Regions from separate parts of the Homo sapiens genome. Here all the other regions are linked to region 1. Evidence: promoter capture Hi-C in human tissues and cell types (Jung and others, 2019). All regions are on one chromosome and are shown on one strand. Each heading gives the region's core, a stretch centred on a gene start or on the middle of the fragment in contact. The rest is flanking DNA. Distances are from core to core; before and after follow the strand shown.

Evidence for each region. The method cuts DNA at HindIII sites, captures the fragments that hold promoters and counts their contacts. A contact is called where the count stands out against the background at its distance.
Region 2: a contact is called between a fragment that was not itself captured here and the fragment with the promoter of METTL9 in region 1, in 1 of the 25 tissues and cell types used here (lymphoblastoid cells).
Region 3: a contact is called between a fragment that was not itself captured here and the fragment with the promoter of METTL9 in region 1, in 1 of the 25 tissues and cell types used here (lymphoblastoid cells).
Region 4: a contact is called between a fragment that was not itself captured here and the fragment with the promoter of METTL9 in region 1, in 1 of the 25 tissues and cell types used here (dorsolateral prefrontal cortex).

Annotation. Positions count from the first base shown.
Region 1 is chr16:21,594,411-21,601,069 of GRCh38, forward strand. It overlaps METTL9 (methyltransferase 9, His-X-His N1(pi)-histidine), which reads left to right and starts at 5,167. Exons shown (of 5, transcript NM_016025.5): 1 at 5,167-5,488. The coding sequence starts at 5,324. It overlaps LOC101927814 (a long non-coding RNA gene), which reads right to left and starts at 4,975. Exons shown (of 3, transcript NR_110930.1): 1 at 4,246-4,975; 2 at 3,224-3,349. RefSeq lists a silencer at 5,154-5,773 and an enhancer at 5,882-6,446. The HindIII fragment of the contact is 5,713 bases long and covers 699-6,411 here.
Region 2 is chr16:22,878,050-22,885,066 of GRCh38, forward strand. All of the region lies in intron 1 of HS3ST2 (heparan sulfate-glucosamine 3-sulfotransferase 2), which reads left to right. Among named protein-coding and RNA genes, the nearest start is that of HS3ST2, 67 kb to the left of the region's middle. The HindIII fragment of the contact is 5,375 bases long and covers 2,723-7,017 here.
Region 3 is chr16:22,970,744-22,977,591 of GRCh38, forward strand. No RefSeq gene overlaps it. Among named protein-coding and RNA genes, the nearest start is that of HS3ST2, 160 kb to the left of the region's middle. RefSeq lists a silencer at 6,028-6,208. The HindIII fragment of the contact is 6,084 bases long and covers 1-5,894 here.
Region 4 is chr16:22,762,657-22,768,761 of GRCh38, forward strand. No RefSeq gene overlaps it. Among named protein-coding and RNA genes, the nearest start is that of HS3ST2, 48 kb to the right of the region's middle. The HindIII fragment of the contact is 7,746 bases long and covers 1-6,105 here.

The sequences.
Region 1 (6,659 bases), core at 3,917-6,416:
GATTCTCATGCCTCAGCCTACCAAGTACCTGCACAACCACACCCAGCTAATTTTTGTATTTTTAGTAGAGATGGGGTTTCAACATGTTGTCCAGGCTGGTCTTGGATTCCTGGCCTCAAATGATCTTCCCACCTCAGCCTAGTTTTGTGTTTTATATTCTTTTCCCCACTCAGTTTGAAATGTCATGAGGATAGACACATGTGTGAAGATAGACACATTATTAAGAGATGCTATCGTCATGGGTTCTAAGAGAATGTTTTACAGAGAGTAGCTTTGCAGAGACCAAAGTCTCTGACAGATCATCAGACATTAGATTCTTACAGGATGGCCACCTAGATCCCTCACGTGGGCATTTTACATTAGGACTGAGCATCTTTATTATGATAACTTTGGTTGATGTTTTGCAGTTTAAAAAACTCTCAGATCATCTAATTCTCACACACGTCTTGTGAAGCAGACAGCTCAGAACCATGGCTCTTAGTTTACAGATGAGGAAAGAGAGGCTCAGATGAGGTTGATTTACCCAAGTTAAAGTGAAAACAAATTAACATTTTTTGAGTGTTTACTAAATGTTGAGGCACTTATTAAGCCCTTTATATTTATAGTATATAACATGATATTCACTGCATCCTTATGAAATAGGTAACCATTATTATTATTTCCATTTTACAGATGAGGAAACAGACATGTAGAGGTCAAATAATTTGCCTCAAATTGCATAATCAAGAAGCATAGAGCCCAGCTTAAAACCCAGATAGTCTGGCTCAAAGTGCAGATGATAAACTACCATGCTAATGAGTAGCACTGGGAGTTCTCCAATGAAGCACACGATGTTACTTGTATTTGCTACTAACGTCTTCTTTTTTTTGAGATGGAGTCTCACTCTGTCACCCAGGCTGGAGTGCAGTGGTGTGATCTCAGCTCACTGCAACTTCCACCTCTCAGGTTCAAGCAATTCTCCTGCATCAGCCTCATGAGCAGCTGGGATTGCAGGTGCAGGCCATCACCCCTGGCTAATTTTTTTTGTATTTTTAGTAGAGACCGGGTTTCACCATGTTGGCCAGGCTGGTCTCAAACTCCTGACCTTGTGATCCACCCACCTCAATCTCCCAAAGTGCTGGGATTACAGGTGTGAGCCACCGCACCTGGCCAACTACTAACATCTTCTAACCCCTGGTTCAATTCTGCTACTTGAGGCTTTTTTTTTTTTTTTTTTTTTTGAGATGGAGTTTCACTGTGTTGCCCAGCCTGGAGTACAGTGGCATGATCTCAGCTCACTGCGGCCTCTGCCTCCTGGGTTCAAGCGATTCTCCTGTGTCAGCCTCCTGAGTAGCTGGGATTACAAGCATGAGCCATGGTGCCTGGCCTAGGCTACTAATTTTTTTTTTTTCAAAGCTGTCTGCAGTTTTGCCTTGACTTAGAATTCATCAACTGGAGCCCACAGTGATATCATTGCACAGGATTGAAGTTGTATCAACTAAATTCAGATAAAGATCTCCTACGTTAATTAATTAAACAAATTGTTGAGTACATTTGCTAATTTTGTTAGAGGTGCTCATTGCTTAATAACTACAGGACACATTCTATTGAATATACTGGGAAAAAGCTGTATCTTTCTCTGAAGGTATACAAAACAATATTAAGAAGCATAAAAAATATCTGTCCATAAAAACATGATTATGGCCAGGTGCAGTGGCTCACGCCTGTAATCCTAGCACTTTGGGAGGCTGCAGCAGGCGGATCACGAGGTCAGGAGTTTGAGACCAGCCTGGCCAACATGGTGAAACCCCATCTCTACTAAAAATACAAAAAATAGCCAGGCGTGGTGGCAGGTGCCTATAATCCCAGCTACTCAGGAGGCTGAGGCAGGAGAATTGCTTGAACCCGAGAGGCAGAGGTTGCAGCAAGCCGAGATCGTGCCACTGCACTCCAGCCTGGGCAACAGAGCAAGACTCCATCTCGGGAAAAAAAAAGTGATTATATGAGTTATTTTTATTTTTATTTTTTGATACAGGGTCACCCAAGCTGGAGTGCAGTGGCACAATCTCAGTTCACTGCAGCCTCAGCCTCCCAGGCTCAGGTGATCCTCCCACCTCAGCCTCCTGAGTAGATGGGTCTACAGGTGCATGTCACCACGCCTGTCTTATTTTTGTATTTTTTGTAGACACGGGGTTTCTCCATGTTGCCCAGGCTGGCCTTGAACTCCTGGGCTCAAGCCATCCACCTGCCTTGGCTTCCCAAAGTGCTGGGATTACAAGCATGAGCCACCCTGCCTGGTCTATATGAGTTCTTTTTAAATCATTATCTCTTCAAGGAGATAACAATCATCAATAGGTTTTGTACAGATCCAAACTCTCTGCTTGTGGATTCTCTTAACATGATACTTTGTAATTGAAAAGAGAATATGAAAATGCCAAGCTTTGTAACTTCAAAGAACAACAATAACAAAAAGCCTTTGCCTAGAGATCTAGATAGGAAAGTGATCCCGCCAAAATTTTGGGCCTGTGTACAGGGCTGTGACCCAAGTGGGACACCTGGGGTCAATGAGCAGAGTTCGGTGCAGAGGGTCATTTGTGTATCTTTTGAATATTACTAACTGCATCTCAAGATCATGTTAGAACGAGTATTGGCTATTTGGCTTTTTGTGTCATCTTGCCCCTTCCCGTCTCCATTATGGAGAATTGAGGTTTTAATATACGGTAGTGACATTCTAGTAGATGAAGGAAGGGGGCTGTCCCCAGTGGGCAATCTGAACTTCTGCTTCGTATATTTACTCTTGCTGTTTTCGTTTCTCCTCATTTGTAATTCAGGAGGCTCTCTGAGAAGAGACAGCAAAGCTTCTTAGATGGATCGAAAGACCACGAGCTGGGATACCAAGTTCTATGAAAAGGTCAGCTATTGAATTTACTCTGCTACCTTCAGGCAAATCATTTGATCATCGGATGCTCTGGTTTCTTCCTGTGCCTGCTAAATGTAAATAGCATGGGTTTGAGTGTTTGGTGGTTATTATAGAGTATTTTAAATGTATGAGTGATTTATTTTTCTAGGCCAGCTGCTCAGATATAAAACAAAATCTGCTCCTTTGAGCTGTTAGGCTTCGTGGCAGTCAACTGACCCCAAAATCCTTCTGACTACAGCAGCCATCTACTTGCTTGTTCATCTGATAACATTTTGCAGTCTCTCAGCTACAGCTATGTGGTCTCACTCTATAGCTGGGGCATACCTTTTTGTCTCCTTTGTCTTCAGAAAGGAAATATGCCATTTTATGCACTCCTGCTGCTTTCACCCCCACTTTAAAAAGATGAAGGCTTCCTTTTGTGACAGAGTTGCTTTGTCTGTTACACTGATCCTAAGAGACAGGAAGGAGAGGTGTCATAGTAAATAAACAGTTATTGGACTTGCTACCATAGTTCCTTTTTGATGACTTGGGCCAGGACCACTAGAGGTTTGAACTAGATTTAGTAAGGCTTGGGCTTTTCGGGGTTTTGGCAGGAAGCAGTCAGGGAGTATATTGGAAAGAGAGAACACAAAATACCGAACCCCACCCACCCTGTGCCTTTTTGTTTGTTGTTACAGCCTGTTACATTAGGCAACAAGATATCCTTGTTAGCCAAAGGTGCCAAGCTGAGATTCTTAAAAGCTAATGAAAGAGCTGTTGGGCCAGGTGCGGTGGCTCACGCCTGTAATCCCAGCACTTTGGGAGGCCGAGGCAGGCGGATCACGAGGTCAAGAGATGGAGACCATCCTGGCCAACATGGTGAAATCCCGTCTCTACGAAAAACACAAAAATTAGCTGGGCATGGTGGCGCGCACCCGTAGTCCCAGCTGCTCGGGAGGCTGAGGCAGAAGAATTGCTTGAACCCGGGAGGCGGAGTTTGAAGTGAGCCGAGATCGAGCCACTGCACTCCAGCCTGGAGACAGAGCGAGACTCCACTCCGTTTCAAAAAAAAAAAAAAAAAAAAGCTGTTGGGTAAGGAATGATTTTGTTCCCCATCTGTGGCTCACCACCCCACTGTTTCATAAATGAAAATCTCTGATGTGCAACGCTGAATTAACCAAAAGGCTTACTTCTTTTGTTTTGAACTTAGACACATTTACATTATTTCTGGTGCAGTTAAATTAAAAGCACTTTCCAAACAAACCTAGGAAAGTATTAAAGTTAGGGACTCCCACGAAATGTTACTCCTTAATTGTGGCTTGGATAATAGCAGGAAGAACTGCAGACAGGAACACAGTGTAACTAACCCTTCAGTTCTGAAATGTTGCTAGGTCTCCTCGTGTTATAAATGATCAAATAAATATCCGGGTTAAACACTGCTCCCAGAGCTGAGTTCACTCTTAAGAGTGTTGGGTCCAACTTCCCTGTGCTAATTCAAGGAAACAAGGCAGCCAAGGAGTCTAACTTGAGGTCTTCATTCTTGGGCAGGGCCATCAATACATCTAAAACATTACTTGTGGGTACCCCAGCTGCGGTAGCTTCCCCAAAAGGCAGAATTTTCACTCATTCTTTATAGAAACACGTAGCCAGCAACTTCTCAGGCTTGGGGAACGGGGCAGGCGGGTCGTGGTGGTGGGGAGAGTAGAGGAGGGAGTCTGGCAGGTCGGTTCTAAATGTAAACTGGAAACTACGCATCCGAGCGGGCAACCATCACTGGCACCATTCGTCTCCGGGAAGAACCTGTGTGTGTCAGGATGCACGAAAGGAATGACTCCCCTCTTTGCGCCCCCGGGGTTAACTGCACGACCCTGTCAAAGTCCCGCCGTGGAGTGGGATGAGGGTCGAGAGGTAACCCTGTCAAAGTCCCGCCGTGGAGTGGGATGAGGCGAGGAAAGACTGGAGGTCCTTCCAGCACCACCTTGGAGGGGCAGGGAGGCTGCAGTTACCGCCTTCGGAAGTGATCTCCTCAGCCCTCAAAAAAATTAAAACCACCTCCGCCATTTACTAGAGGCCAAGGCAGGGCCGGGACACGAGAACGCGCTCCGGGCGGATGCGCGCTCCCTTTGTCCCGCCTCCCAGCGGCCCGCTCATTGGACGGAGGGAGGGCGCCGGGGGAGAAAGCGACGCGGCCGCTCGTAAGTGCTCCGGATGGAAACTGGTGCAGGGGGCAGCGGCGTTCCGCGGCCGGAAGGGAAGGGGGAGGTGCCGAGGCTGCGCGCCGGCTGCTCCTCCCCACCCCCAGCCTTTGCCCTGAAGGGGGCTGGATGGGCAAGGCGGCCGCGATGGCTCGAGCTCGGGCGGTGGCGGCGGTGGCCGGAGGCGGCGGTGCCTCCTCCTCCTCGCCCCGGCGCCGGCGGTGATCCGAGCGAGCGGCCGCGGCCCCCGATGAGACTGCTGGCGGGCTGGCTGTGCCTGAGCCTGGCGTCCGTGTGGCTGGCGCGGAGGATGTGGACGCTGCGGAGCCCGCTCACCCGCTCCCTGTACGTGAACATGACTAGCGGCCCGGGTGGGCCGGCGGCGGCCGCGGGCGGCAGGAAGGAGAACCACCAGGTACGGGCTGGGGCCGGGGCCGGGGCGGGGGCGTGGCGGCCCGGCCTTCCCGCGCTGGGCCCGGCTATTGTGCGGGACGGCTCCGCGAGGGGGCGGCCCGGCCCTCGCCCCTCCGCCTCGGCCCCTTGGAAAGTTTTCCCCGCGCCTTCCCCGCCGGGCGTCGACTCCGCGAGCCCCGGGCACCCGGCCGCGGCCCCGCGAGCGCCTTTTGTTCCGCAGCGCAGGCGGGGCATGGCCTCCCGGGCCCGATCGTGAGCGGCCCGGAGCCCCGCATTGTTCCTGGGTCCCGGGCGGTGACTGCGGACGCCCGGCAGCGGGACTGGGGAACTTTGGGGCCAGAGCGTGGCTGGGGGCGCCCGCCTGGCACCGAGGCCTGAGACTGAAGAGACCCGGCCAGATCCATTACCCCGAGAAACAAAACGAAAAGCCAGCCCCTCTTGTTGTCTCGTTGAATCCCAGAACGTACAAAGGGTCGTGAAGAAATGTAACTGTACATCGCAAGCCATTGAACTCTCCAGGCTGATTGGGGTGACATTTCTCCCTAAGCACTTAAAAAATGGGTTTGACAGGTTGTCGCTCCCATCCTACGGAACCTTCCCCTCCTACCTAGCAGAGATCTCCTTTAAACTTGGATTTAGTCAGCCTGCTAGAAAGATTGTGTGTGATGAGGAGGAAGATTATGCAAGTTTTACAGGAAGGGTTTTTAAAACAGAACGGGACGGGAGGGAGTTTTAGTTATGCATCGTGAGCGTTACGCTGTGACCGGGTAGGTAGGCTTTTCATTAGCTCAGTCTTGCGCCACTTAAACGTGTACAGGTTAACTGTAGAATTAAGTGAGATATTTCGTATATGACCTTAACATAGTTTGCAGTTAATGTTAAATTCATTGAAAAGAGGCTTTTGAACTCTGCCAGAGTGTTGGCTTGTCATAGCTAGCATTTATAATACATTTTGCTTTTCCATAGAGTATTAATTATTCCCTATATCATCTTGTGTCTCATCATTTTCATATATTTCTCATTTTCCTACATTACTTTTTTATTATGCCAGGTGTTCAGAGAATTTACACCCAGGTTGATTTCATGTGTTTTAATGAGGGTAGAGAATTGTCTAAGAAGGAGATAGAGCAATTTAGAAAAGTAGCATTTAGTCTTTAGTAATATGTATATTG
Region 2 (7,017 bases), core at 4,160-6,659, 1.3 Mb after region 1:
AATATTCCTGTATTATCAGAGTCCAGGCTGTGCAAAGGAGAGTGTCTAAGATAACAACTAGTACCAGATCTGGAAAGGTCCAAGTGCACTGCTCAAATATATTTAGAATTTATTGTGTACATTATGATGTCTTAAACTTCTGTCATTCATGTAGCCCCTTAGTGATTTTCTTCATATCAGCTACCTGAGTTTTTTGCTTCATTTTTTTTAGAAGTTCAACTTTTTAACAGTGCAGGAAATAGAAAACATGGATCCTTTGTTAAAGAAATAAGAACAACAAAACCCAAATGATGTTACTCAATTCTGATTAGACACTGTTGCCCGCTGAAGGCTCAGAGCCTGAGACCTGCCCTGTCTTTGTTAAGAAGGGAGATTAGTACATGTTCGAGTCACACTAACACTAAACTGAGACTTTGTCCTTGACTAAGGGAGGAGTTGAAAGGGATTAACCAGCTGGGTCTGTGATGCAGGGTTAGTTGGGCTCACTGACCACCCAAAAGCATCCTCCCTGTAAGCCAGGTGGAAACACTGAAGGATATGAAGCGGGGGCCTAACAGGGTCAAAAAAAAAGAAATAAATACATTATGGAGCATTTTAGAAGGTGGTAAGTGATGCAGAGAAAAACAACAAGAATTGAGGGTAAGGGGTACCGAGGGAAGGGTGTTCCAATTTTAGACAGGTGGTCAGGGAAGTGCCCCCGAGAGAGCAACATTTGAGTGCAGGCCTGAAGAAGGTGAGGGAGAAGCCGTGTGGATATCTGAGGGAAGCACTTCCATGCAGGGTGGATGGCAGGTGCCAAGGCCCTGGGGTAGGCGGGTGCCTGGATGTTCAATTGCAAAATAATCACTGAGGCTGGAGTGGAGTAAGGGAGGGCGAGATGGCTGGAGATGAAGTCAGAGAAGTTAGGGGAACAGGGCAGAGGGTCTCCTGGCGTTTGCCGAAAGCCCTGTCTACATATTCCTGCAACCATCTTAGAGGGAGAAAAGTTAAAAGGTCAGCTGGCCGCTTCATGCTCTGTTTTCATGAGCTGAGCACCCATCTCCATAAATCAGTGCCAGGGCCATCTGTGCAGACTGCCTGGGCTCTGGCTGCAAACTCAGCAACAGTGCTATGTCGTCAATGTCGTCACCAACCCAGCATCTCTGTCTACACAACCCCAAACTCAGGCTCTGTTTTCTGAGCAAATAACCAGTCTCACTGATTATTTCTTTGGATTCCAACAGAATCCACCAGGTGTTTCAGTGTCTTGTAGATGGCTTCCAGAGCTTTCTAACAGCTAAGGCCCCGCAGGCAGGACTGCTGGTATCACGAGCCCTCCTGCCTTCGGAACTGTTACTGGGCTCTCCAGGGGAAGGTAACTGAGCTCCTCTGAGGACTGTGTTCTTGCCAGGTGTTCTGCACCATGCCCTTGGAAGGATAAAGGCAGAGGGTGGATGGGGTGGGGGTGATGAGCACACTCTGCTGGGGGGCATCCCAGTTGGAAATCCACCTCAGGGATCGGACACTGAGTGCACGTGACCCGAGTGAGCTGGCCCCACTTTACATGAGATTAGCTGTGTCTGAGGTGTGGCAAGGGAAGGAAAGGAGCTCGGAGCTAATGAGCTGAGTTCCTGGCAGCATTAATGCGGCTGCACACCCAGCAGGCATTGCCATCCATCAGTCTGTCAGCCTCTCTGGGGGCCGCTGGAGTGTAAATTAATCTGGAGGTACCAACTCCACTGCTGAATTCTTCCTCCAATATGTTTGTGTCTGAAATTGTTCCCTGGGCCCCCAGAGAAGATAAGGCAGTCACTTCTGCCTTCTGCCATCAAAGCATGGGGATTTTTCATGACCATGAACCCCAGACTGGACACAGGGGCTTGGGAGGGAAACTGTGATTTCCAACTATAGACTGGGCTAGTCATGGTGAGAAAGAACAAGAAGCCTCTGAAAATGCACAAATCTCCATAAAGCACAGAGCTCAGCCTCTGGGACTATTGAAGAACATTCTGCTAACTTAGGTATTGGAGAGTAATCAAACCACATGAGGAAAGACTCATAGCTGCTAACTCTCCTATCTTGATTTGTCTTCTTTCCAATAAAAGTGTGGGGGCCGGGAGTAGCTCATTCCTGTAATCCCAACACTTTGGGAGGCCAAGGTGGGAAGATCACTTGAGTCCAGTAGTTTAAGATGAGCACGGGCAACATAGCAAGACCCTATCTCTAAAAAACATTAAAAAATTAGCTGGGTGTGGTGGCACACCTGTAGTCCCAGCTACATGGGAGGCTGAAATGGGAGGATCGCTTCAACCTGGGAGGTTGAGGCTGCAGTGAGCCATGATCATGCCACTGTACTCCAGCCTGGGTGACAGAGTGAGACCTTGTCTCTAAAAATGAAATAAAGTTAAATTAAAATTAAAAACTGGGGGAAAAAAACCTTCAGTAACAAAGTATAGACAACCAATGTGTACTCTGTCACCCAGATATATACATCTGTTGTCTATATTTTCTGTTTTACCTATTCGATCCCCTATTTGGCTGGTACCACTTTGATTTTTCTCTAGGAAGCCTTTTGTGCCATGTGGCCCAGGCTGAGGAGTGTACAGCACTGCCCTCCCCCCATGGAGATGGGCTCATGACCTGAGCTGACCACTCAGGGAACTCCATGCCTCCTGCCTGCTGGGATTTCTTCAGGAATGGCATGTGACTCAAAATGGGTGAATCCAAACCTCCCTAAGATACGGTCTATGGACTCTGGTAGAAATAAGTGTCTTTTCCTCTGGGATCAAGCTGTGAGGATTATGTAACCCAGGTGCCAATAGACACCTTTGCCAGTCACCTGAAGGGAGAAATCTGCAAAATGAAATCAACATACAGAGAACAGCAGAGTCGAGTGATGGATACAGAGAGCCCCAGGAACGCTGTTAGATCTGGATGGGCTTGAGACTAGATGCATCGCTGGACTTTCAAAGTATGTGTGGCAATACATTCCCTTGTTGTTTGAGAGAGTTTAAACTGAGTTTCCATCACTTGCAACCAAAGGACAGATCTCCATTCAAATTCTAGCTCTGCCAATTACTAGCTCTATGATTCTGGGAAAGAACTTCCCTCGTCTAAAGTCACTTCCCTCGTCTGAAAAGTAGAAATAATCACAGCACATGTCTTGTAGGGCTGCTGACAGAGTTAAAAGGAACACCTAGGGATGCCCCTGACCACTTCTTGACTTCAGCAGGTGATTTGTGAAATGCTGTTTCCCTTCCTCCTCCACTGCTGAGCGTTGAGAGGACACTCTGCCTGCTGCTGTGTGGAGCAGACATTTGCGCTGTCAGGAGGAGACAGGGCTGAGTCCACATGGTCACCTCAGGCTCCAAGGGCTCTCCTGGGTCCTGCTTCTTGCTCGGTCTCTACCCCTTCTCCTGTTTCCTCATCTCCTCTCAGTCTCCAGAGGGCTCCATGCTCTAAAGAGGGTCCCAAAATCCACATTAAGCCATATTGGAATGGAAAGAGCCAAAAGAAGCCAGTTGAGAGAAAGTAGAGCTTGCAGGAAGCTGACAGGAATGGGAACAAAGAGGTCAACATAAGGGAAGATGACTCTCACGACAGAATCCTAACTTCTCAGCAAGGTGAGGGCAGGAGGGTACTTGGGGGCCTTGGAAAGCTGGAGAAGACTCTTCACAGCATCTAAGAGACTTATGACAAAGGCTCGTAGGTTACTTTAATTCTGGGCAAGTTTCACAAGGACAAGAACTGTGGGTCCTTTGCTCACTTCTCTTCTCCCAGCATTTTCTCAGGTGCCTGGAATCGAACAGGTCCTTTGTAAACATCAGCAAAAGAAAGAAGAATAGGCCAGTGGCTGAGGCATGCAGGCTTCAGATTTGCAGACAGTAGCCTGAAGCATCAGGAGACACAGTTTATTTGGCTCTTATCATGTTTGTTTGTTTGTTTGTAGCTGTTGATGTTGTTTAAAAATAATTTGCCAAAATTTTATAACTGAGAAATTTTGCATGAAATCTTTATTTCTTACATCACATTTTAAAAATGATACACAAGGTCAGGTGTGGTGGCTCACACCTGTAATCCCAGCACTTGGGGAGGCCGAGGTGGGAGGATCCATTGAGCCCAGGAATTTGAGAGCAGTCTGAACAACATGGTGAGACCTCATCTCTACAGAAAATGTTTAAAAATTGGCCAGGCATGGCGGTGCACACCTGTGGTCCCAGCTACTAGGGAGGCTAAGTTGGGAGGGTCAATTGAGCCTGGGATGTTGAGGCTACAGTGAACTGTGATTAGACTACTGCACTCCAGTCTGGGCAACACAGCAAGACCCCATCTCAAAAAATTAAAAAATGATATACATAGGGTTTCCAAGAGAACCTTGGAGATCAGTGAGGGAGTGAACTTAGCTGCATTAAGATTCCCAGATCACTGGGTGCAGTGGCTCATGCCTGTAATCCCAGCAATTTGGGAGGCTGAGACAGGCAGATCACTTGAGGTCAGGAGTTTGACACCAGCCTGGCCAGCATGACGAAACCCTGTCTCCACTAAAAATAAAAAAATTAGCCGGGCATGGTGGCATGCGCCTATAGTCCCAGCTACTCAGGAGGCTGAGCCAGACTTGCTTGAACCCAGGAGGCAGAGGTTGCAGTGAGCCAAGATTGTGCCACTGCACTCCAGACTGGGTGACAGAGTGAGACTCCATCTTAAACAAACAAACAAAAAAGAGGCTGGGCAGGGTGGCTCATGCCTGTAATCCAAGCACTTTGGGAAGCTGAGGCAGGTGGATCACGAGGTCAAGAGATTGAGACCATCCTGGCCAACATGTTGAAACTCCGTCTCAACTAAAAACACAAAAGTTAGCCAGGCGTGGTGGTGCATGCCTATAGTCCCAGCTACTTGAGAGGCTGAGGCAGGAAAATCGCTTGAACCCAGGAGGCAGAGGTTGCAGTGAGCTGACATTGTGCCACTGCACTCTGGCCTGGCAACAGAGTGAGACTCCATCTCAGAAAAAAAAAAAAAAAAGATTCCCAGACCATAGCAACATTCCTGCTATCTGTATACTCCATTTGGGGAAAATTCAGATCACTTTATAGTGCTTGCAGAATATTATAAAGTGCCAGCAGATGCCAATTCCCAAGCACATGAGCCATTCTTGCCTCTGAGAACCACAAGATGAAAGAAAATGATTGTAAAGAAGCTCAGGAAGTGTCCCACCAGCCCAGCTGTATCAGACAACTATTGTCCATAACATCAGCCCTGCAACTCAGTCTGAGGGTTTAAACCCTTTCAGAGACAGCCAGAAAAAATTGGAGAGGCCAGAATGGCAAGGAAACTAAAAAACAGGTCCAATGAGAAACAGTTGGATGAATAGGAGATATTTTTCTGGGACAAAAGAGTTATCTAAGATAGAAGTATTTGAAAAGCTGTTATGTGGAAGAGAAATTGGGTCTGTGCTATGTAGGGTGGGTAGGAAGTCCAGGCATCCACAATTAGCACAATCCAAAAAATAAAGTGAGCTCTTTTAGAAAGTCACTCTAGTGGCTATAATAACTATGTAACTGGTTTTTGTTTTTTGTGGTTTTTTGGATTGAAGGCAAAATATTACACGATGGCTAAACTGTACACTTCCCTTCGGTTGAGGTTTGAAGTCAACAATTAATGCTTCTCTTCACTTTCTGGTTCTAAACTAAGTTAAAAAAATAGGTGCAGATGGAAATTAAAATATAATTTAACTTGTATTCCTCATCAAGCTAGATTGAAGAATGAATCTGGAACCCAAGGCCAAAATTAGGCATTCCATAGCTACTCATCACCTCTTAAACTTGACTTTGGGATCTGCCTGAAGGAAAAGTTGGGGAACCCACCCAGCCAGCCACAGAGGAGATCTAGACTTCCCTCACCCTCTCTGGGGCCTCACAGAGAACAATCATAAATGTGGCTTCCAGACCCACCTCTAGAAATCAAAACAACTCGGTCCTGCCCCACTGAGGATAAAGGCTCTATCATTTTTCTGCAATGGGCAAGTCACAGAGACAGAGGAAAAGGGAAAGACCCAGGGTCAAGAAAGGCATTGAGCTATGCTTGACCCAGATTCCACTGGAATTCACTTGTAAATATGAATTTTGACATCTGATACCTACAGGGTGCTTGTTATGTGTCAGGGACCATTCTTGGGGCTTCACATGATATCATGCATCTCATTTTATCTCATTGAATCCTTGTGACAACCCTATGAATTATTACTGCTACTGTCTCTGTTTTATAGATAGGAACCCAAGGAATAGACAGGTTAAATAATTTGTGTAAGAACACACTAGTTAGAGGTTGGGCTGACTTTTAAACCCAGGTTCTTCTGACTCCAAATTGAGCTCCTGCCGAGGTAGAAGGAAAAGCAGAAGCTTCATTTACAATAGTTTACGGAGAGGATGCGGGTGTTTGCGGGACTCTCCGTAACTTCTCATCACAGGATTCTATCCATAATAGAAGGAGCTTCACATTCTGTCTTCTTCTTCCTGAGCCCTGGGACTGGTCCTGTAGCTTCTGGGTTCAAACCTTTGCTTTGCCACCTTTGAACTGGATGGCCTTGGGTAACTTCCCTAATTTCAGTTTTCCCATCAGCAAAATAGAGAAAAAAATATATATATATATATATTATATATATATATATATGTCTACTCTCAGTTTTATCCCTTGTAGAAAGTTAGTCAGGCTCTGATCCCACCTAGACATCTATCTTGACCATCACTCCTTTTGACCTGTAGCGTTTCAGCCCTGAACCACTGCATTTTTCACTCTTTTTTCTTTCTCTCTCCCTCTCTGTCTTTTTTTTTTTTTAAACAGAGTCTCACTCTGTCACCCAGGCTGGAGTGCACTGGCATGATCTCAGCTCACTGCAACCTCCACCTCCCCAATTCAAGCGATTCTCATGCCTCTGCCTCCCGAGTAGCTAGGGTCACAGACACGTGCCACCACGCCCAGCTAATTTTTTTATTTTTAGTAGAGATAGGGTTTCGCCATGTTAGCCAGGCTGGTCTTGAACTC
Region 3 (6,848 bases), core at 1,603-4,102, 1.4 Mb after region 1:
TGGCTTGAATACAGATTAACCCTGCTGAAAGACAGCAGCTGCTGCAGGGAGGGGGCTGACTGGAGCCTAATGTCTGCCAGAAGATGGAGAATTCCTCCACCCAGGGGCTCTCAGCTGGGGCTCCCTGAAACTAGAACACACTTAAGATATCAGTAACAGGGGATGGCACCCAAAACGAGGGAGGAGCGCATGCTTATGACACTTAGCATTCAATAATTTCCAGAAAAACTTTGTAGAGGTCTTTACATTTACCAATTTTGTTCAAGCAGTTTTTGTTTTAATTACACATGGCATAGGTGGTGGAAATCATCATCTTTCATGATAGCTGTGCTCATGTATAGCAGTTACTATATCCCAGGCACCATTCTGAAAATTCTTAAAATATTAACTCATTTACTGTGTACATGAATGCTGTAAATTACATAATCCATTTTTGTCATTATTTCACAGGTGAGGAAACTAAGACACAGGCAGGTTAAAGAACTTTTCTTTCAGGCTAAACAATTAAATGATGAGGCTTGGATTTAAACCTAAACAAGGGTGCATTGCGGTTTTATCAGTTAGCTTCTGCTATGTAACAAACATCCCAAAACTTAAGGGTTTAAAATGGCATGTTTATTATTCTTAATGATTATGTAAGTGACATGGTTCTTTTGGTCTGGGTCATCTCAGCTGATCTCTTTGGTCAGCTGGCAGCTCTACCAGGGCTGGATGGTCTAGGACGGCCTCATCCATGTGTTTGGTGGGTTGGCTTCAGGTTGGCTAGGGTGCTGGGAATGACTTGGCTGTGTGTCCCTCATCACCCAACAGGCTGTCCTGGATTTATTCACATACGGGTGTCACAGGGTCCTAAGATGAACAAGAGAGGGAAGATTCTCAATAAGCAAGTGCTTTTAGAGCCTCTGCTTGTGTCATATTTGCCAATGGTCCATGGGGCAAAGCAAGTTACCAGGCCAGCCCTGAGTCAGTGTGGGAGGGGAATACCCAAGGAATAAATAGTGTCTATTTTTACGATCTCCACAATAGTCTGAAATCTGAACCATTCATTTGTCTGCCTCATAGGCTTCTAATAGTCTTAACCCAATTTTGGTTCTCAGCGGAGCCCAGAGCAGGAATAATTGAGAGAAAAATTTCAACTATTTTCCGAAAGGGGTCACATACTCCTCACCCATGCCCAAGTCATTCGTGCCTTTCTTCCATTGCCCCCACCTAATTGTCATCCCCGCCACCACCACCACCATTGTGCGGAAACAAAATCTGATTAAGTGCTCATGGATGGAAAAGAAAATGGATTGTGATTCAGGGAATTTGAATTTAGTTACTCGAAACTAGCTGTGGGACCTCGGGCAGGTCACCTCGATTACTCTGACCCTCAATGATTTTTACTTTTTCAATGTAATAGCCCCAATTTTTCTATAAACATGAATTCAGTTCCCACTGTGTACTAGGCATTGCACTGAACAACACAGATACCATTGTGAAAACAGACACAGTCCTTGACTTTATGAAGCATATAGCATAATGGGATAAACAGATGTTTATCAAATAATCTCCATAATGGCATATAATTACAGACTGAGATAAGTGGTCTGAAGGACAAGAGCCCAATTCTATGAGAAGTTACTACAAAGGAGTCTGGTGTAGACCATGAGAGAGGAGCATGAAGGAAAGTCCCCGTCAAGTGAAGGACAGTTGAGATGAAATTAACTGGGAGGACCAAGGCAGATGACATTGAACCCAGAGTTATTGGGAGAAAATTCTCCATAGATCTCTTGTATTTCTGCATGTTTCGAAAGCAGAGGGCCTGTCTGCCTTTGTCTTGGGCTATATTTTCAAGGATATTTGGAAAACAACCTTGAAAGATAGAGATGATATCTTCCTCTACAGTGATGGGTAGGCATGCTCACTGCCCAGTGTAGAAGATTCAGTTTCCAGCTGGGTATGGTGGCTCATGCCTGTAATCCCAGAGCTTTGGGAGGCCAAGGTGGGAGGATTGCCTGAGGCCAGGAGTTCAAGACCAGCCAGGGAAACATAATGAGACCCCGTCTCTAACAAAACAAATTTTTTTCCAATCAACTGGGCATGTACCTGTAGTCCTAGCTACTCATGAAGCAGAGGCAGGAGAATTGCTTGAGTCCAGGAGTTTGAGGTTACAATGAGCTATGATTACATCTACTGCACTCTAGCCTGGGCAACAGGGCAAGACCCTGTCTCTAAAAAAAAAAAAAAAGAAAAAAGAAAAAAAAAGAAAAAGATTCAGGTTCCCTTTTCACATCACACTTTTGGAACTGGGGCTTAGAGAACCAACACAAAAATGATGATATTCTGGATTCTGCTATTGCTATGAGTCATAAACTATCCTTTGTCTCTGACCCAGGTGTCTCATGTCTTTTGCAGCATCCTTGAAGTTATGGCCAACTAACAGGTTAGCTTGCAAGGAAGCTAAAACTCAGATCCTTCACAGTTCTTAATATTTTCAGGTTCCCTGAAAAAAGTGACATACAAACTGGAGCTTAAAGGATGAATAAAGCAGGAGGACAGAGGGAAGGAAAGGAATTTTAGGCAGAGAATATATGCAAAGACTTGGAGGTGATGAAAAGCAAGGACACACCAAACAAAATTTGCTCAGTCTAGCAGGACTACAGAACCTGGTGATGAAATGGAAAGAGATGAAGCCAGAGGGGTGGGAAGGAGTGGGAAGATGGTGTTTAGGTATGTTAAGCAGGGAGACTTTATCCTGAAGGCAAGTGTAAACCACTGAAGGCTATTTGGGGCAGACTGGACTCAAAAGACATTGAGGGAAATTTTGAATGCCCTCTACCACCTTAGCCTCCAGAACATTTTCTACCTCAATACTGCCCATGAAATAGCCTTGGTTGCAACTTAGGTTGGCATAGCAACTGATGATGTGGTTGTTTTCACCACAGCTTTATTTTTATTATCTCTATATTGTCAAGCTGGCCCTAAGTGTCTGGACAATCACAGAGCACTGGATGTGGGGAAGAGAGCTAGAAAGCCAGCCTCCCTCTGGCTGAAGAGTGAACAGCAAAAAGAGGTAATTTCTTTTACAAGACTGAGACCACTAACCAGTCCTCTGTGGCCTGACTAGTGACTACTTGTTTAAGCCAGTCAGGCCAGGCAAAATAACCTCTTCCCTGCAACTTATGCAATACATAGTGAGAGATATTACACTTGGGGCTTCAGAAAGAACTAATTTCTCTTATTTGAGTGTATGTGGGATATACAGTATATTTGAGTGTAGAGTCAGACCACTTGGGTTTAAATCCTGGCTTTATGACTTCAGGTAAATGAATTAATCGCGCTGTGCCTCAGTGTCCCTACCTGAGAAATGGGACCTAGTTCAACAGGCTGCCATGAAGATTACACATTAAGTGTTCAGAACACTGTGTGGCACCTTATATGCATTCAAGAAATATTGACTATCATTATTAGTGTTTATTTGAAATATATCTCCTCACAACCTCTATCGTTCAAAAACTTCAAATATTTACATCATTCCCAATAGAGTAGGTATCATGCAGCAAATTAAACACCTGTAGCTACTGCATCATTTTCAAAGAAACTCCCTCTTAGAGTCCGTGGGAATCACTAAGCTTTGCTATTCAAAACCTGCCAAAATACCATTGAATGGCCCTACTTCAACACAATTTGTTGATGGCTCCCAAGTACTTACAAAGTTTTCTTCCTGAGGGAGACCTGGGGCTTGTAGATTATGGGGCTCATCCACAATTGCTGGTGCAACCCAGAGTCTTTAAACTGGGGAAGATCCACAGAACATGAAAAGCAATAAACTATTGTTGTTTTAACCCACTGTTTCAAAGTGGTTAGTCAGGAAGACACAACTGATAGAGGGAACAGACAGATTCCTCGCGACGCCTCCAGAGATTCTGACTCATGAAGTCTGGGGTAGGGCCTGGGTAGCTACTGTTAACTTATCTCCCCAGGTGATTCTAATTTACTTGGTTTCCATCAGGGTTCCCCCCAACCCTTCCTGATGATAAGAATCACCTGGAGATTCCTAGACCCTCACCCAGGCCTTCTGAACCAGAAAGTCCAGTGGGGAGCTCTGGGAATTGAGAGACTGAATATACAGGTGGACAAAGGCTAGACCATAATAAAAATTGAATTCTGACCCATTCTCTGTAGCAAACTCTCCAGGAAGCCAAACAACAACTCCTGTAGCCATCGGCTCAGACGAACCAGGACTTAATCAATAACTGACAGTTTTCCTAGTTCTTTTTATTTATTATTATTTTTTGTAAAGATGGGAGTCTTACTATGTTGCCCATTCTGGCCTCAAACTCCTGGGCTCAAGCGATCCTCCCACCTCAGCCTCCCAAAGTGTTGAGAACTCAAGCTCGAGCCACTGCACCTGGCCCAATTTCCTTAATTCTTGGCCTTGCTTCCAATTTAAGACCAACCAGAGAAAGTCAAACATGCCCCCTAACAAATCACATAGGATTTCCTGCCCCTAGTTAACTTGCCTCTAGCTTCCTCTGGCCAGCAGCCTCCACTCAGGGCACACCTGAAGTCTCCCCTGCTTCCCGCCTCTACAGCCTCCCCACTCCTCTGCCTACCTTTGAGCCTCTACCAAACAAAAGTGAGGATGGCTGACTCCCTTGCTGGAGCAAGCCCCAAATAAATATCCTTTGCTTGTTCTCATTTAGGTGGTCTTTTAAAAATTACAACTGAATTTATATATTTGATAAAAACAAGTGATTCTCTTATCATATGGAAAATTTGGAAAACACTCTCCCAGACCCTTGCTGCTCAAAATGTGATTCCCAGAACAACAGCAGCAGCATTGAAATGTAGAATCTCAGTCCCCTCCCCAGACTTACTGATTTTTAACAAGAACCCCCAGGTGATCCTCCAGCACACCAAAGTGTAAAAAGCATTAACCAGGAGCATTGATCAAGTCAGTGGGTCTCAACCCTGGGTGCACATTAGAATCCTCTGGGCCTGATTAATTGGTCCTGGGTAGGACTTACACATCAGTGGTCGTAAAAGCTCTCCGGTTGATTCTTATGTGCAGCCGGTGCTGAGAATCATAGATGTAGGACAAGGGTTCCCACACTTTGGGCTATGTCAGAATCATCTGGAGAACTCACCAAGTACACAGAGGTCCTGACTTGATAAAAGAGGATGCGCCTGGGCCTTGTTTATCTTACCAAGTTCCCAGGTGATTCTGAAACTGACCAAAGTATGAAAACTGATCTAGGAGAAGTGCTCTAAGGGAAAGAATCCCATGGTGACCTCCTTGGAACTCCAAGGAGGGTGAGACGGTTCTTGTTTCTTCCCAATATCTTCTCCTTCCTCAATTCGACTTGGCCAGCACCATGGCTCATAAAGTTTATGGAATGAAAGAACTCAGAACTGGAGGGAACTGAAGGCATCTTCAAGTACAGAAAACAGGGATTTGTCAGCCAAATTCAGCTCATGACTGTGCATTTTTTTTAATTAGATAGTTTTATGGTTTTTAAGGTTTAAATCCATTGCCAACACTTTTTTTTTTTTTGGAGACAGAGTCTCACTCTGTCGCCCAGGCTGTAGTGCAGTGGCACGATCTCGGCTCACTGCAATTTATGCCTCCCGGGTTCAAGCGATTCTCCTGCCTCAGTATCCCGAGTAGTTGAGACTATAGGTGCATGCCACCACACCCGGCTTATTTTTTATATTAGTAGAGATGGGGTTTCACCATGTCAGCCAGGATGGTTTCAATCTCCTGACCTCATGATCCTCCTGCCTCAGCCTCCCAAAGTGCTGGGATTACAGGCATGAGCCACCACGCCCGGCCACCAACATTTTTTAAAAGGAGATTGAATTTTCAGATTCTTCTGGAAGATCAAAGACCTAGCAATAGTAGACTACATTCCTACATGACTGCAATTGGCCAGAACAGCCCCTTAAAATGCAGCATGTGCTCACCAGTTTGCCACCGTCCCTGCCTGATCCACATCACTCATTTTTGTTACCCGCTTGGCCCTGCGAGCATCTAATTTGGAGTCTTTCTTTATATAGAGAGAGTCCAACCTCGCCTTTTGTGGAAGAAAAAACCGAGCCCTATACTCCAGTGGAAGCTGTTTGTCCAACGTCCCTCACTTATGGCCAGAGCTGAGACGGGTCAAAATTCTGACTGCTTTTTGCTTGTAGGGGGTTGGGGATTCTGTTGGGTTAGTGTCTCCCTTCCTGAGATCCCAGCCAGAGGCCAAAGACCTAGAGATCCTCAGTTCCCACTTAGAATCCAGGGCAAAGCTCTCTGAAGCACTTTGCTCTTGGCTTTTGGGCTGTCACCTACTAAGACACACCTATGCAGCAATTTACTTAGCCTCTCTACGTGTCAACAAACTCATCTACACAATGAGAGTAACAACAGTGCCTGATCTATAGGGTTGTTTTGAGGGTTAAATTACACTGTGTTTGTAAACCATTATTCTGGCACTTGAGACATAGGAAGGGCTCCATAAGTGAACGTTAAATAACATTAATGATTTTTTTTCAACATATGTGCTCATCTGAGAGCACCACCACTGTCCAGCTTTAAAATGGTCTTCAGTTTCTGCCTGTCTCAAACTGACTCAGAAAGCAGTGTGTTGAGAGAGCCACCTATTGGAGAATAGCATTAGGCAAAGCTCTTAAAATGTGCTAAGCCTCAGCTTTTTGTCATCTGTAAAGTAGGGATAATAATAGCACTTACTCCTTAGAGTTGCCGTGAAGTTTAAATGAGATAATGCATGTAACAGCGTTGCTTATCAAGTGCCTAGCTCCCAATCAATAACCTTGGGGTTTTGACTCCTTGAAGCAGAGTCACCACCTAGTGGCATTAA
Region 4 (6,105 bases), core at 2,424-4,923, 1.2 Mb after region 1:
CAATCCCTGAAGGTCCTGACCATGGACAGCTGGCCACCACAACATGCCTAGCATCTGGAGTAACAGGTTCTTCCTTAGAATAGGGCCTGAGTGGTAGCAGTGTTCACCACAGATGGCCACAACATTCTTTGCAATCTGGAAGTTGCCTACCTCTCTAATCTCATCTTTTGTTATTTTTCCCCTTATTTTGTCCTCTTCAGGCACATGGTTTTTTCCTTCCATCTCTCAAATCCACCATGTGCCTTTCTGCTCCAGGACCTTTGCCCATGCTCACCTTCCTGCTTAGAATGTCCTCTGCATTTCTGCCCTCCTCACCTCCCATGCAGATATTCAAACTCCTTTTTCAGGTGTTTGCTCCAGAGTTGCTTTCTCTGGGGGAACTTATCCGACCCTCCACCTGTGTAGGATGCTTGGTATATACTTGCAAAGCTTAGGAACCTACTGGACTTGAGCCAGGAAATGAGGGACTCATGCAAAGCTGCCTCTTTCCTTGGGGTTCCATGTTGAGAGAGATGGGCCTGAAAGCCACCGTGAGCTGGCAAGATGGGGTACAGTTAGATTCTTTGTAAGCAGTGTGCTGACTTGCCTTAAAATTTAGCAAAACTTTTTGAAAATTCTGCCCTGTTTTCATTATGCTTTTTTGGGGCTGGAGCTGACCAGGAGAGGCAGCAAGAGCCAGAATCAGAGTGAGGGTCCTCAAATGGAAAGTGACATTTAAGAGGCTCAATTCAAGGGCCCTTGATCAGGCATCCCTCTAAACCAGGGGATCCCCCTTCTTGTATTAAATTGTGGAGATTCAGAGTTTTGTGTTGTTGAATAATAGCAATATAATAACAGCAGCCATGATGCCCTGTATTGAGCATTTACTGAGTAACACCATGCTATGTATTTGCTTGCCTTACCTCACTAATCCTCATATGACCTCTAGGAGGAGGAAACTATCATCTGTCTCTGTTGAAGAGATGAACAGAGGTTAAGCGATTTGCCCAGGATCACACTTGTAATTAGTGGCAGAGCTGGGCTATGAAGCAGTGCTACTGTAGGAACAGAATCGCCAGGCCAATGCAGCATGCATCTGGCCTTTTTGACACAGGTGCCTATCTGAACCTTCTCAAGGGGGTGGCGCCTGTGGCCCAAGTCCCTGGTCCTTAGCAGTCTGCGGAGACCCAGCCTCTGCTGCTGGTTCCATGTACCCATCCCCCATCAGGGCTTCCCCCTCCTGCCAGCTCAGCCCTGGCTGCTTAAGTCCCAGCATGCCTCGGGCTGTAGCCAGCCTGAGTTATGACATAACTCGCCTGAAAATTTCCCTGTAAAGGGAAAGGGGCCAATCCAATGTGAATTATTCTTATCGTAAGCTCCCCAAAGCCAGGGACCTTATATGATTTATCTTGGTATAACCCACAGCACTGGGAACAGGGCCTGGCACACAGCACACAATAAATGTTTATGGAATTGACTGAAGTTTTCAGAGAGACGAGGGCAACACACACACACGCACACACACACCCTGGCACACAAGTAGTATATGCACAAGTGCACACACACTATACCTACAAATCCTTCACACCCACACACTCTCTTTACACACAAAGACACTCTGCACACACACACACTGATTTTGTGTGCTCTCTGAGTGTGAGTTTGTGTTTGTGATCTTTCTCTTCCTGTGACATGTCATGTGTATGGCTCCATCACTCATTTTAATTACATTATTGTGGGCTGTGTTTGGCCTTTGGCTATTTTTGAGGCCAGATTAGAAAATTTAAAAACATCCATCTTTCTTCAGGAGAAACTTATAACAGCAATTGCCCTGGGGTGGGGAATTGGGATACAAAAGTAGGGATGGGGGAATTTACTTTTCATGGTCTTCCCTTTTGTTCTGTTTACATTTTTTAAAAAACCATGTGCATGTGTTATCTTTTCAAAAAATAAAAATAGAAACATTTAGGAAAAAAAATAAGAAAGCTACCTTGCTTCCAAAACAACCACTCACTAACATAAAAGCTTTTTATAACTGGGTTAGTTAGAGATTAAAGTTGAGGCCGGTTCTGGACAGGTTCACAGGCCCCTGGAAGCACGTCACCACCACCCATGCTGCTGGCAGCCCTCTAGGGCTTGGGCTCCGGACGTTGTCCAGGATGAGCCCAGAGGGATGTTTCTTCTCCCAGGAGCTCCCCCGTGGTGACCCCCAAACACTCATTTAGTTATTCTCTTTGCTAGGTCAGTGACAAATCTGCAAGGATTAGGCGAAGTAAGCTCTGAAATCTACTCAGTAAGATGAAAATCTGTCCCCTCATTCTCAGGCTCAAGGGGAAGTGATTAAATCTGAGGAGTTGGGCTCAGGGGGCAGGGGGCTTGCTGTAGCCTTTGAGTTCGAAGTTCTGCTGCATCCTTTCCTGTGATTTTAGAATCACTGGCATCTGGTCTCCAGACACAGTGGCAGCTGTTTGGAGCCCCAGAGTCAAACCCAGGGAGGATTGGGGCCTCCGAGGTGGACTGGATACTTAAAACCAGCTAATGAGAGAGCTGGGGCTTTCTTCTGAGTCCAAGATATTCCTGGAGGGATTAATTTTTATCAAATGACTTCTTAATGAGAGTCCGCTTACCTCCAAATTTGGAGACTTTAAAGCTCCTGAAATTTAAAACTAATCAGCAGGCTGGTCTGCCTTGAATGTGAGGAGTTCACACAATTAGAAACTCAAAAGGGAAGAGAACATGTTAGTAACAGCCAGGAGCTAGCAGAGTGGAAAATATTAGCTTGAAATTCAGCAAGTGGCCTTGCTCTGTATCCTTGCAAATTCAGGATAGGTTGCTAGGTTGGGATCTGAAACTGAGGTCCTGGGAGCTGGATCTGGCTGGCAGATATGTTTTCCTTAGCCCACAAATAATTTAAAATTTTGGGAAATTTCATGGACAAATGTGGTTTAAGGAGCTTCTTTGTAAAGTCAGAAATTCTGGCAGGAATAGGACTGCATTCCTGCATAGACAACAAACTCCTTGAGCTGCCTGGCAGCAGTCCCTTTATGATGGGCCATGTGTGGCCCAGTTTGCTGCAGTCTCCAACTTTCCTTTAAGAGGAGAACTGTATGGATTATGTTACCTGCTCAGCCCTTGTGGATATTTGAGTCTGAGCTTCCTGCCCCAGATACACTATACTCATGCTTAGAAGAACTCATGGGATGGACCACTTTGCAAATTTGGGGATGATTTTTTTGACAGTGAGGCCAAGACAATGCCACCGGCCTCAGTTTGGGGAATTCTCCATCCCAACCCACACCTTTGATTTGGCTTCCCCAGTGACTCAGCTTCAGGGAACTAATGTTTCTCTCCTTTACCCTGTTGTGAACAGACTCTAGGATTGTTTCAAATGATCTCTGCCTCCTGGTGCCTTTGTAGAATCTTACCCCTTGCAGGATAGGAAGGACCTGTGACTTCCTTCTAACCCATATAATGGCCATGGTGACAGGATGACACTCTCATGATTATATGACAGAAGACCATAGCATCTGTCTTGCTAGCAGACTGTCTCTCTTTCTGGCTTTGATGAAGCAAGTGAGTATGCTGTGGAGGCCCATGAGCAAGGATCTGAGAGAGGCTCCTGTCCAACAAACAGCTGAGAACTAAGAGGGACCAACAGCCAGCAAGAAACTAAGCCTGTCAGTCCAACAGCCCACAAGGACCTGAATCCTGCCAACAACCACATGAACTTGGAAGTGGCTTCTTCCCCAGTCAAGTCATTGGATGAGATCACAGAGCTGGCTGACATCTTAACTGCAGCCTTGTGAAACTCTGAAGTAGCGAACCCAGGTAAGCCATGATCAGACACCAAACCACTGTCAGAAACTGTGAGACAATAAATGTGAGTTATTTCAAGCTGCTCAGTTGGTGGTATTATAATATTGTTATGTAACAATAGATAACTAACACACATGCCTTTTGGTCTTGGAGTTTCAACAATTAACTCATGGTTTAGAACTGCTAATTGCTGCTACTGATTCTTCGAAATCTGGATCACTTGCCAGGATAGACTCTTTTTTTTTTTTTTTGGTGGGGGAGGAGAGAATACGGCCACACTCCGTTCATACCTCTGGTGTATCATTAACCAAATGTCTCCCACAATAAAATGGCAGTTTCTTGATGGAAGGGATTGTATTCTGTTCATCTTGATGTCAGCAGTGCTGAATATTGTGTATGTGCTCAGTGAGTTGTTGTTGAGTGAATGAACATAGTTGAATGGCTGAATTGTCAATTGCAGGCACTTTTGTCCCCCTCTAGTTCCATTCTTAATGACTGGATCATCTTCTGCTGTTTGAAGGCACCAGAGTTTGATTAATACAGGTGACTAATATTCTTTTTGTATTTATCTTGTTTCTGCAGAATTTTTTGCTAATATAACTAATATAATAATAATAATGCTTCAATTCAGCATTCTAATAGCCAAATGTTTGTGCTCATTTATGATTGTTGTTGGGCCAAAACATATGTGTAATATTATGGTTTTTAATACTTACTGGAAAGATATTTACACTTCTAAAAATATAGTATATAGGAATGTCAACTTTCCCACACATTTACCAGTATTGGTTAGTATTTTTCTGGTTAACCTTTGCCAATTTAATAGGTGGGGATACTATCTTGTTGTTTTATTTGCATTTATTTGCTAGTGAGTGAGGTGGAATTTTTTATTAACAGTTTGTATTTCTTTTATAAATTTATATTTCATGTCCATTGACCATTTTTCTATTGGGAAGGTTGATCTTTATTTTATTGATTTGTAAGAGTTCTTTATATATTAGCTCTTAAGATAAAATATTACATATTATATATTATCATATATATGTTTTGGAACACATTAAAAAATTTTTATTTGGTGAAATTTACTAGTTTTTTATTTTACAGTTCCTGCCTTTTCTTCATACTTAGTTATTTTGAGAAGTATCTGTTCATATCCTTCACCCATTTTCTGATGGGGTTGTTTGTTTGTTTGTTTTCCTTGTAAATTTGTTTAAGTTCCTTGTAGATTCTGGTGAGGCTGTGGAGAAATAGGAATCCTTTTACACTGTTGGTGCGAGTGTAAATTAATTCAACCATTGTGGAAGACAGTGTGACAATTCCTCAAGGATCTAGAACCAGAAATACCATTTGACCCAGCAATCCCATTACTAGGTATATACCCAAAGGATTATAAATCATTCTACTATAAAGACACATGCACATGTATGTTTATTGCGGCACTATTCACAATAGCAAAGATTTGGAACCAACCCAAATGTCCATTGATGATAGACTGGATAAAGAAAATGTGGCACATATTCACCATGGAATACTATGCAGCCATAAAAAAGAATGAGTTTATGTCCTTTGCAGGAACATGGATGAAGCTGGAAGCCATCATTCTCAGCAAACTAACACAGGAACAGAAAACCAAACACTGCATGTTCTCACTCATAAGTGGGAGGTGAACAGTGAGAACACATGGACACAGGGAGGGGAACATCACACACCGGGGTCTGTTGGGGCATGGGGGGTAAGGGGAGGGCAAGCATTAGGACGAATACCTAAGGCATGCAGGGCTTAAAACCTAGATGACAGGTTGACAGCTGCAGCAAACCACCATGGCATATGTATATCTATGTAACAAACCTGCACGTTCTGCACATATATCCCAGAACTTCAAGTAAAATTTAAAAAAGAACAATAGAAAAAGAAAGTTATTTACCACCTTCAACATTATATGCTCATTCTCCAACCTTTTTTCTTTTCTTTTCTTTTGAGACGGAGTCTCTCTCTGTTGCCCAGGCTGAAGTACAGTGACGCAATCTCGGCTCACTGCAACCTCTGCCTCCTGGGTTCCAGCGATTCTCCTGCCTCAGCCTCCTGAGTAGCTGGGATTACAGGCACAAGCCACCATGCCCAGGTAATTTTTTTGTATTTTTAGTAGAGACGGAGTTTCACCGTGTTAGCCAGGATGGTCTGGACAGGTTCACAGGCCACCGGAAGCATGTCACCATCACCCATGCTGCAGACAGCCCTCCAGGGCTTGGGCTTCGCACATTGTCCAGGATGATCCCAGAGGGATGAGTTAGTCCAGGATGAGACCAGAGG